Regions from separate parts of the Homo sapiens genome. Here region 1 is linked to region 2. The links are contacts of gene promoters, found by promoter capture Hi-C in blood cells and fetal thymus (Javierre and others, 2016). All regions are on one chromosome and are shown on one strand. The core of a region is centred on a gene start or on the middle of the fragment in contact, and the rest is flanking DNA. Distances in the headings are between cores, read along the strand shown. Region 1 overlaps SDCCAG8 (SHH signaling and ciliogenesis regulator SDCCAG8). Region 2 holds the start of AKT3 (AKT serine/threonine kinase 3).

The links. Contacts are between HindIII fragments. The CHiCAGO score rates a contact against its expected background, and 5 or more counts as called.
Region 1: a fragment that was not itself captured here is called in contact with the fragment with the promoter of AKT3 in region 2 in 1 of 17 cell types (monocytes); the score reaches 5.3 in monocytes.

Annotation. Positions count from the first base shown.
Region 1 is chr1:243,331,040-243,335,515 of GRCh38, reverse strand. All of the region lies in intron 10 of SDCCAG8 (SHH signaling and ciliogenesis regulator SDCCAG8), which reads right to left. Among named protein-coding and RNA genes, the nearest start is that of MIR4677, 13 kb to the left of the region's middle. The HindIII fragment of the contact is 2,079 bases long and covers 1,577-3,655 here.
Region 2 is chr1:243,848,088-243,852,662 of GRCh38, reverse strand. AKT3 (AKT serine/threonine kinase 3) reads left to right here and starts at 2,420. Exons shown (of 14, transcript NM_005465.7): 1 at 2,420-2,623. RefSeq lists an enhancer at 3,011-3,511. The HindIII fragment of the contact is 10,171 bases long and covers 1-4,575 here.

The sequences.
Region 1 (4,476 bases), core at 1,367-3,866, 520 kb after region 2:
ACACTTCAGCCTTCGTTTTTCCTTTCTTATCAGGAATTCTCATCAACATACTTCTACACAGTAGAACTACTCAGCAAGGCAAATGGTTTCCAGCAAACAACCAAAAAATACAAATTTCCTAGGCGTGAACAATAGCTGGTGTTTGCTATTGATACCATTCTCTCTCACACAACACTCAATTCGCAACTTCATCTCCCTTCCATGTCTTATTCATATTGGTTACAGGTGGCGTTCCTTCCCCCATACTCTGCGTTTCTAAACCCCATCTATTCTTGGAAGCTCAACGAAAATGCCATTTTTTCCCCAAAGCCTTCCATGATCTCTTGCAGACAATCAGTTCTGATCCTCTGAACTCTCAGCATTTTAGCCATAACTTCCCAATGGCATAGGGACTTTTTTCTTTTCCTTGTAATTCATTCCTTCATTCATCTAATATATACTGAGCACATTTTACATGAGAGGAATGTGCCAGGCATTGAGGATGTTACATGCAAGGGACTCACTGAACTAGGGGAGGCAAGCTATTCGACATGAATTTGTAATGAAGTGAGCTATGGGAGCCCACAGGAGACGGTCCCAATTCAGCTATGGGAGGCGCGGAGACGAGGTGGTACCAAGAAAAGTTCTGGGCCACGCGCAGTGGCTCACGCCTGTAATCCTAGCACGTTGAGTGGCCAAGGAGGGTACATTGCTTGACCCCAGGAGTTCGCGATCAGCCTGGGCAACATGGCAAAAACCTGTCTCTATAAAAAACACAATTAGCCAGGCATGGTGGCACACCTCTCTAGTCCCAGCTACCTGGGAAGCTGAGGTGGGAGGATTACCTGAGCTCAAGTGGTCGAGGCTAAGTGAGCTGTGAACACCCCACTGAGCTCCAGCCTGGGTGACAGAGTGAGACCCTGTCTCAAATACAAACAAACAAACAAACAAACAACTCTGAAGAATCAGTTAAAGAGGGCAGAGGAAGACTCCTCTAGGCAGAGGGCAAAGCACATGCAATATCCTGCACTGGAAAAAACAGTATGGAAGAGAGGCATATGTACATGCTTGGGGAAGCACAAGTAGGTCAGTGTGGTGAGGGTGCAAAGAAGAAAAATGAAGGAACATAAGACCGGAGAGCCAAAGAGAGGAACAATATTGTAGAGTCTTCATGCTATGATAAAGGATCCTAAATTTTATTCAAGGTTGCAGGGAGACGTGAAAGGAGTTTTAAAGCAAGAGACTGACATATTGAGAAAGATCATCCCAGCTGCAGTTTGGAGAACAGATAGGAAGGAGGTGAGACTGGAGGCAAGGACACCACAGGGGCTATAGGAACCATCCAAGGATGAGATATGGTAGCAGTAGGATAGAGAGACAAGGCAATGTAAATGCTCAGGGGCTTAAGTCTTAGAGCCTGGTGATGATGAGATGTGTGGGGTGAGAAAGACGGGGGAGAAAAGGGTGACAAGATTTCTGTGCTGGATAACTGGATAAATAGTGGATCCACTGGGATAGGAGGTGGAAAGTAAAGCTGGTTTGGGAGCTCAGTATACAGTTAAGGATCTAGAAATCAAATAGCTTTAGTCTTGAAGCTTTAGGTCCTAAGGCTATATATACATGGAATTCAAGCTATAGTACTGCTAAAGACACCTAAATCTTTAGCTCCCTGCTAAACTCCAGAACCTCCTATCAAGCTGCTTTCTGGATGTGTCTCCTTTATTGTCTCAAAGGCACTTTAAACTCAGAGTAATGTAAAAAGCACACATCATCATTCTCCCAAATCAAGAATATGAATTCAAAGAAATCATAGAGAATCTTTTAAGGAGAATAAGACTGAAAAAAAATCAGTAAATATAGTGTAAACAGATCTTCAGTGAACATAGCAATGGTAATTTCACTGGCTGTGGCATGGAAGTTGAAATGCAGTGGGCTGAAGAGTAAGTGAGAGGTGACAAAATAAAGACAACATGTATGGACAAATCTTTCAAGAAACTCGACTATTAAGAGAAAGAGTCAAAGAGGGAGATGGAATTACTGACGTGGTTTCCAACCTTGGCTGCACATTGGAATCACCTAGGTGAGTTTCAAACACACTGACACCTGGATGCTTCTCTCAGACATTTTGATGTAATGGGTGTGGGGTACTGTTTGGACAATCAGATTTTTAGAACTTCTTGCGTGCCAAAAATTAAGAACCACAGATTAGAAGAAAGATTGTTCCTTTCAACAGTAAGAGACATCTGAAAATATTTTCCTGAGGATAAGAAAGAGACTGTAGTGAAGGAAAGATTGATTCAGAAAAGTGGAACAAACAAATGGAATGAGTTCCTTGAGGGGGTGAAAGGAGACGAGGTCCATGGGAAGGGGAAGGGATTAGGAAGACACCTTTCCCATTCAGACTGGGTTGGAATACAGGTGAAAATTTATTTTAAGGCATGGACAAGAGAAATAGTTGAGGTGGTCATCACCCAACGGCTTCCATTTTCTTTGTTAGTTAAGTAAGGCTCTCTGCTGAGAATAAGAGGAAAAATGGTATTATAGAGAATTTGAGAAGAACAAGTGATTTGAAACAGTCTTTAAAGAAATGCATTTAAGATACCATCACTTCCCACCTGGACTACGATAATCACCTCCAGACCTGGACTACGATAATCACCTCCAGACCTGGACTACGATAACCACCTCCAGACCGGGACCACGATAATCACCTCCAGACCTGGACTACGATAACCACCTCCAGACCGGGACCACGATAATCACCTCCAGACCCGGACCACAATAATCACCTCCAGACCTGGACCGCGAAAATCACCTCCAGACCTGGACCGCGAAAATCACCTCCAGACCTGGACTGCGATAATCACCTCCAGACCGGGACCGCGATAATCACCTCCAGACCGGGTCTGTGATAATCACCTCCAGACTGAGACCGCAATAATCACCTGCAGACCTGGACAGCAATAATCACCTCCAGACCGGGACCGTGATAATCACCTCCAGACCTGGACTGCGAAAATCACCTCCAGAGCTGGATTATGATAATCACCTCCAGAGGGGGATTATGATAATCACCTCCAGACCTGGACTGTGAGTCACCTCCAGACCTGGACTACGATAATGACCTCCAGCTGATCTCCAGGCATCTATTCTGCTTCTCCTTCCAATCCACTGACAAAATGATTTTTCTCAAATATAAATGGCATCGTGACACTGACAAATTCAAAGCCATTCAATGGCTTTCCATCCCTTTTTGGACAAAATTGAAAATCCTTCATATGGATTTTAAAGCCATTCATGATTCCATCCCAACATAATTCTCCAAACTCATTCCCACTACTCTGCTCCTCTCTCTCTATGCTCCACCCATCAGGGCCTTCTCCAAATTCCTAGAAAGTGCGATGCTTTCCAGGTCCAGAGTCTTGGGTGTGTTATATTCCTGGGCCTGAAACCCTCTTCCCCTCTTCACCTGTCCATTCATCAATGCTTTCAGGTCTCATTTTCAACATCTCTTACTCAGGAAAGTCTTTCGTGACTGCCTAGACAAGGTCAGATTCCTGTTACACATTCCCACGATATCCTAAACCGAACCTTATGGCTTTATCACAATGATGATCGAAAACTCACTTATGAAAACATTTGTGTAACATCTACTTCTCCTACGAGTTTGTAAGCTTCATGAGGAAACTGCATCGTTCCTGTGACTACAACATTCCCAGCCCCTCTGGTTAATATCTGTTGAGTGTGGAATGAATAAGAGAGAGGAAGGCAAAAGAGGACTGCTAGAAAGCACTGAAAGGACCGTGGACACCGAAGACCTGGAGTCTACAGCCATGTCATCTGCAAGGCTGTGTGATTTTTACCAGCAGAGATCACCAATCCAGGGCAGAGAAGGTAGGTAGTAGGGTTTTGACAGACACAATTTTTAAAAATGGATAAGAAGACAAGGACATTTACAGGAAATGCCTGAGTTTACTCTTATTAAGACTTAAAACTCATAGGGCAGAAGTTGTGATTTTTCTCTTTACATATCTTTAGGCCTCCACATTGCTTTGCACACAGCACATACTCAGTATATACTTACTGAATAAGTTAATTATCACACATTGAATCTGATAACAACATAGCATTTAGAGTACAAGCTGTGAGTCCACTTTTAAAAACAAACATGTAACACAGTTGTTTTGGTTACTTGATGGACCACAACTTGCTCAATTCGAGTCTAGTTAGCAATTTTAAAGCTAGGTCCCACTCAACTCTGTATTCTAGTTTGTGAACTCCTTTTCAAACACTGCTTGTTTCATGTTATCTGTTCCTTTTGCCTTAAATCTCTCCCTTCATCTGGTTACCGTCATTATTCATCATGTAATTTGTCAGAACTGATTTCATACAGAGTGCATAATCACTTTTTCTTGGTTACTCAGTTCCTTACAAGTGTTTCATCTTCTGCATATTTAATTTAGGGGTAGGAGATAATGCAGGGGAAGTCATCTCTCC
Region 2 (4,575 bases), core at 1,171-3,670:
ACCACAATCGGCAGATTCTACCAAATTCATACCGGCATAGTCTAAGAGAAAGAACAACGTTATTTAAATAAATAATATCCCTAATCAATAGTAATTCAATAACAAAATCAAACATGCTTTTATTATGGAAACTTATGAAACTACTATAGTCCACAAGCAAAAATTGAACAGAAATAAAAACTTATAATTCTTCAAATACATGAAGCCGAGAGTATATAATCCATTCTCACATACTGAATTTTAGGGTTTAATCCACCTAAGATTTAATGCAATCTGACCAGACTGGGAGAAATATTTTGAGGTAGTATGGCTCATAAGACACATTCAGTTCTTGTAAATATATTGATGTTAAATTTGGGAACAAATGAACATCTCACTGATAAGAGATATCTAGTAATTCAGTAATTCCGGATACTCTGACTCTCAAAAGTTAAGTATTTAAAGTTTCAGACACTCTTTTTAGTGCTGGTGTCATAAGGGACTATTTTCTTAAAAATAAAAAGCAAGTTGGGGTACTATGGAATAAAAATATGACCTATTTTTGTGTTTTACAGCAAGAAACCTGTAACCCAATAATTTTACCAATAGTGACTGTGAGAGGTCTGATAATTATGGGAATACATTATGTATATTTTATAGATACAACGAAAATAGGACAAAGTCTGTTTATTCATCAGCTCATAGCATGCTGGGAAATATGGGAAAAGGGGAAAGGCATGGTGCAGGACTTTCTCTCAGACGGACTGTGTTATCTTAAAATGGCAAATTTTGCTCCAGGGTGGTCAGGGAGACAAGTTTCCCTTACAAACGGAGAAAACTGACTTTTTTAAAAAACCCTTTTATTTGGTTTCCTACTCCTGTCCACAATCCCAACAGATGCACAGTTCATAAAAGATGTGAACCTGGAAGTATAAATATTAATACCACACAGTACATAAATACCAGGGGGCTACAGTATAAGAAAATGACTACCATAAGAGAGTTGTCAAGACATAGAAAAGCAGAGAATGAAGTGCATGTCAGGAGGAGGAACTCTTCTGCAGAAAGAAGCCACAGACATTAACAAAAATGTTGCAGTGGGAGAAAGTAACAGGTACATCAACAAGGCTAGAGCCACGTGGCGGGATAATAGGGATGCTGCCCAGGTGTTTCCAGAAGCGATAAAACTTGTAAACTTTTATAATTTTCTGAAGTGCGCTGCATGGTAAAATATGGTCATTGTGCAAAAAAGTTGTCCCCAATGCAGTCTCAGGAGTCACTGACTTCAAAATAAAGAAACGGTCTCTTCGTAGTAAATGTAGTACCTCGTGGCTTTCCCAAAGTCATTGAAAACGAATATCCCTAAAAAGGGTGTGATTTCAAGAGTGAATTACGATCCGCCCGCAATCTGTGTACCGTGTGTGGACGAATGCTTGCAGCGAGCGGTGCGGAAGGCTGTTCAGAGAGGTGTTTTTGGTCTGCCGTGGTCTCCTGGGATAGTCAGGAATGATTCTTGCTACGGGCTGACCCGGGTTCCCTCTTCCCCGAGGTGCAGGGGGTGGGGTCGGCTTCTGGACTGCTCCGCGCTCTCCGGTCCCTACCTCATTGGGCACCGCCCACTTCGTGGGCTTCCAGGTGCGAGCCCTCGCGCCGGGCCCATCTCCCCAAGGGGCCGCGGCGGACTGGAGGAGACGCCCGGGGCCTGGCGGCGCGCGCGTCCGCGGCCAGGGCGGGTGGGCGGATGCGCCGAGGAAGCGGCTGGGCGAGGAGCCTCCGCTCCCGGGCCTCGGGTGCCCGCCAAGGGCCACGCGGGCGAGGGGGAAACCCAGAACTTCCCGCCCGGGAGCGACTGCCCCCGCTCCCGGCTCTGGCTGGCTAGGGGGATGTTCTCGCGAGAGGAGAGGGGGCGCGGGGCACCGCTGGTTTGGGGGCGCGGGGAAGCCTGAGGACGAGGGCCGGGCAGGGAGGGGAGCAGAGGCGGCGGGCAGGGCCGGGGACGCGGGGAAGCCGCTCCCGCCAGTCGCCGAGAGCCAGCCCCTGACGTCAGGAGTTTTCCTCAAAGTCAACAACAAGCCCCGCGGCGACGGCGAGAACCGATCGGCGGCGGCCCCGAGCGGGAGGAAGGAGGGGGCGGGGAGGCGGCGGGGGGTCCCCTCAGCGAGGCGCAGCCCGGGAGGAGGCCGCAGAACCCCTCCCCGCGCCGGGCGCGCCCCGGGGCCCAGAGCCGCCGCCCCGCCGGCGTGACCCGGCCCCCGCCCGAGCGGTGTTTTCTGGTGATGAATTTGTAGCCGATATCCGATTCCCATGTAGAGTCTCCGCCTCCTCCTCTCCCCGCCGCCGCCCTCTCTCCTCCCTCCCCCTCCCGCCGCCGCCGCCGCCGCCGCCGCCTCCCGCTCCAGCTCCGCGGCCCGGCCCGGCCGGCTCCCTCCCTCCCTCCCCTGCAGCCCTTCGCTTGCCCTCCCGCCGGCCGCACCGGGCTCCAGGAGGCCAGAGGCTCTGTGGGGTGGGGGGAGGACAGGAGGGGAGGAGGAGGGAGGGGGGACCCCCGAGTCGCCCCCTCTCCTCCCCCCGCCCCCCCCCGGCTCCATCCTCCGCCGCCGCCCGAGCAGCTGCGGGGCCGCCACCGCCGCCGCCGCCGTTGCAGGTAACAGCCACCGCCCCCAACTCTAGCCCCCTCCCCGCCTGGCCTCCACTCCCTCCGGGCCCCGGGCCCCGGTCCGCCCTCCCTGCCTCCCTCAGGCGGGGGATGGCGGCGGGGTGGGGTGAGGCGGGGGCTTCTGGGTTGTCACCGCGCCGGGGGCGTGGGCGGGGGCTGGGTCACCGGAGGCTTCGGGTGTGGGTGTGGAGGCCGGGGGATGCCCAGCGCGGTTGACACCGACACCCCCCGCTTTCCGGGGAAAGCTGGGGGGCGGCGGTGCGCAGCGGGCCGGGGGAGGGGTGTTCCCGGCCTAGCGGTACCGTCTGTGTCTGGGCTGCCCCGGCCCGGCGCCTGCTGTCTGCGCAACTCTCGCTCCTTCCCCTCGCCCCTCCCCGCCCGGGCCGCGCGGCGTGGGGAGGGGGCGCCCGCCTGGACCGGGGGCGGCGGCGAGGTTATATAACGCGTGGAGCGCCGGTGTCAGTGTGTTTGGGTTGGGGGGAGGGAGCCGTCTGCCGCGCGCCCTGGCGCTGAGGCTGTCTGCGCGTGGGGTGGGGTGAAGGCGAGGATGCACAGGCGTCCCCGGGGTCTCCTTCCTTCCCCCACCCTTCCCCGCCACTGGCGCGCAGGAAAAGACGGCACTGGTGGGGTGGGGGGGGGGGTGTGTGTGTGGGAGGTGGGTAACGTGCTTGTCTGTGTTTTTAATAGTAGTGGGGTTTTGATCCGCTTGGGAGTTGTGTGCTAAGAATAGAAATGTGCGGAAGATGCTGGGTTTGGCTGATCCAGTGATGCTGTCGCTGCTGGCGGCGGCGGCAGCTCTGGCTGCAAGTAAACAGACCAGCCTCTTCCTTGTCCACCTCCTCCGGCGCATCGGTCCGCATCAGCCATGATGCCGGTGGGGCCCTTCAGAGCCCAAAGTTGAAGCCTAGCTGGTTGCTGTGTTGACCCTGACGCCGAGGCGGGGTCACCATCCCTTGTTTGGGATTTCCCGGGAATCTACAGTTAGCCTAGAGATAAAGAATCTCGTTGGGGCCAGGTTTTTCCAATACCGGTATTTACTGTTTATGTTCTGAAAGCAGAGGAAATGCTTACCCACAAGTCAAAGCTGGGATGCTCACATTTCTTCCATCAAAATAATGTTGTTATGAAAATAAAACCAACTCATTTCACCAATGTGGCATTTTGGTTGAAAGCCTGGTAGTTTGCAATTGATGAAGTTTCCAAATAGAAAGTCAACAGTGAAACCTATGCATCTATATTGGGTAATTTCTAGCCATAATAAAGTGTTCACACTTTGATTTTAGTTGAGGCTAAAGTAAAAAATAATGGCTTTTTGTAGTTAATACATTGGCAGTTGTCTCAACAGTTTAGACATGTGTTCCGTATTTGGTAAAGCATGGTCATATATGTCTTTTAGTAGAACTATACATCACTAGGCAACCACTGGGTTTTGTCAGTGGTTGAAGCTGACAAATGAGTGAAACTCATTGGTTTAGGTTATGTATTTACTTAGGAAAACGAAGGTGGAAGAGTCTAATAAAGATGGTGTAGGAAATGAAGATTAGTCTTCAGAACTTGAGTATCACTTGCAAAATATGTATAAACGAATACAAACATTCCGGGGGTGGTTGTCTAAAACATGAAAATATTTTATAATTAAAATAGCAACTTATTACTAAGTTACTAGTTTTCCAAGGTTTATGACTTAATGCACAATTATATGCAAGATATATATCCGGACTGTAATTGTTTTCCTTTTGCCAGTACATTATCTTGACTTGGAAAGTTTACCAAGGAGATAGTACTTGAAAGTTTACAGGGAGATGGTACTTGAAGATCTTTTTGTTTTCCTTACTAGGGTTGACCCCAATATCTTTGATTGGCTTGAGGTTCCAGTTTTAAAGTGAGGGAGGACAAATATTACATGAATGAGACTGTTGAAATTTAGATGAATGTAGGGT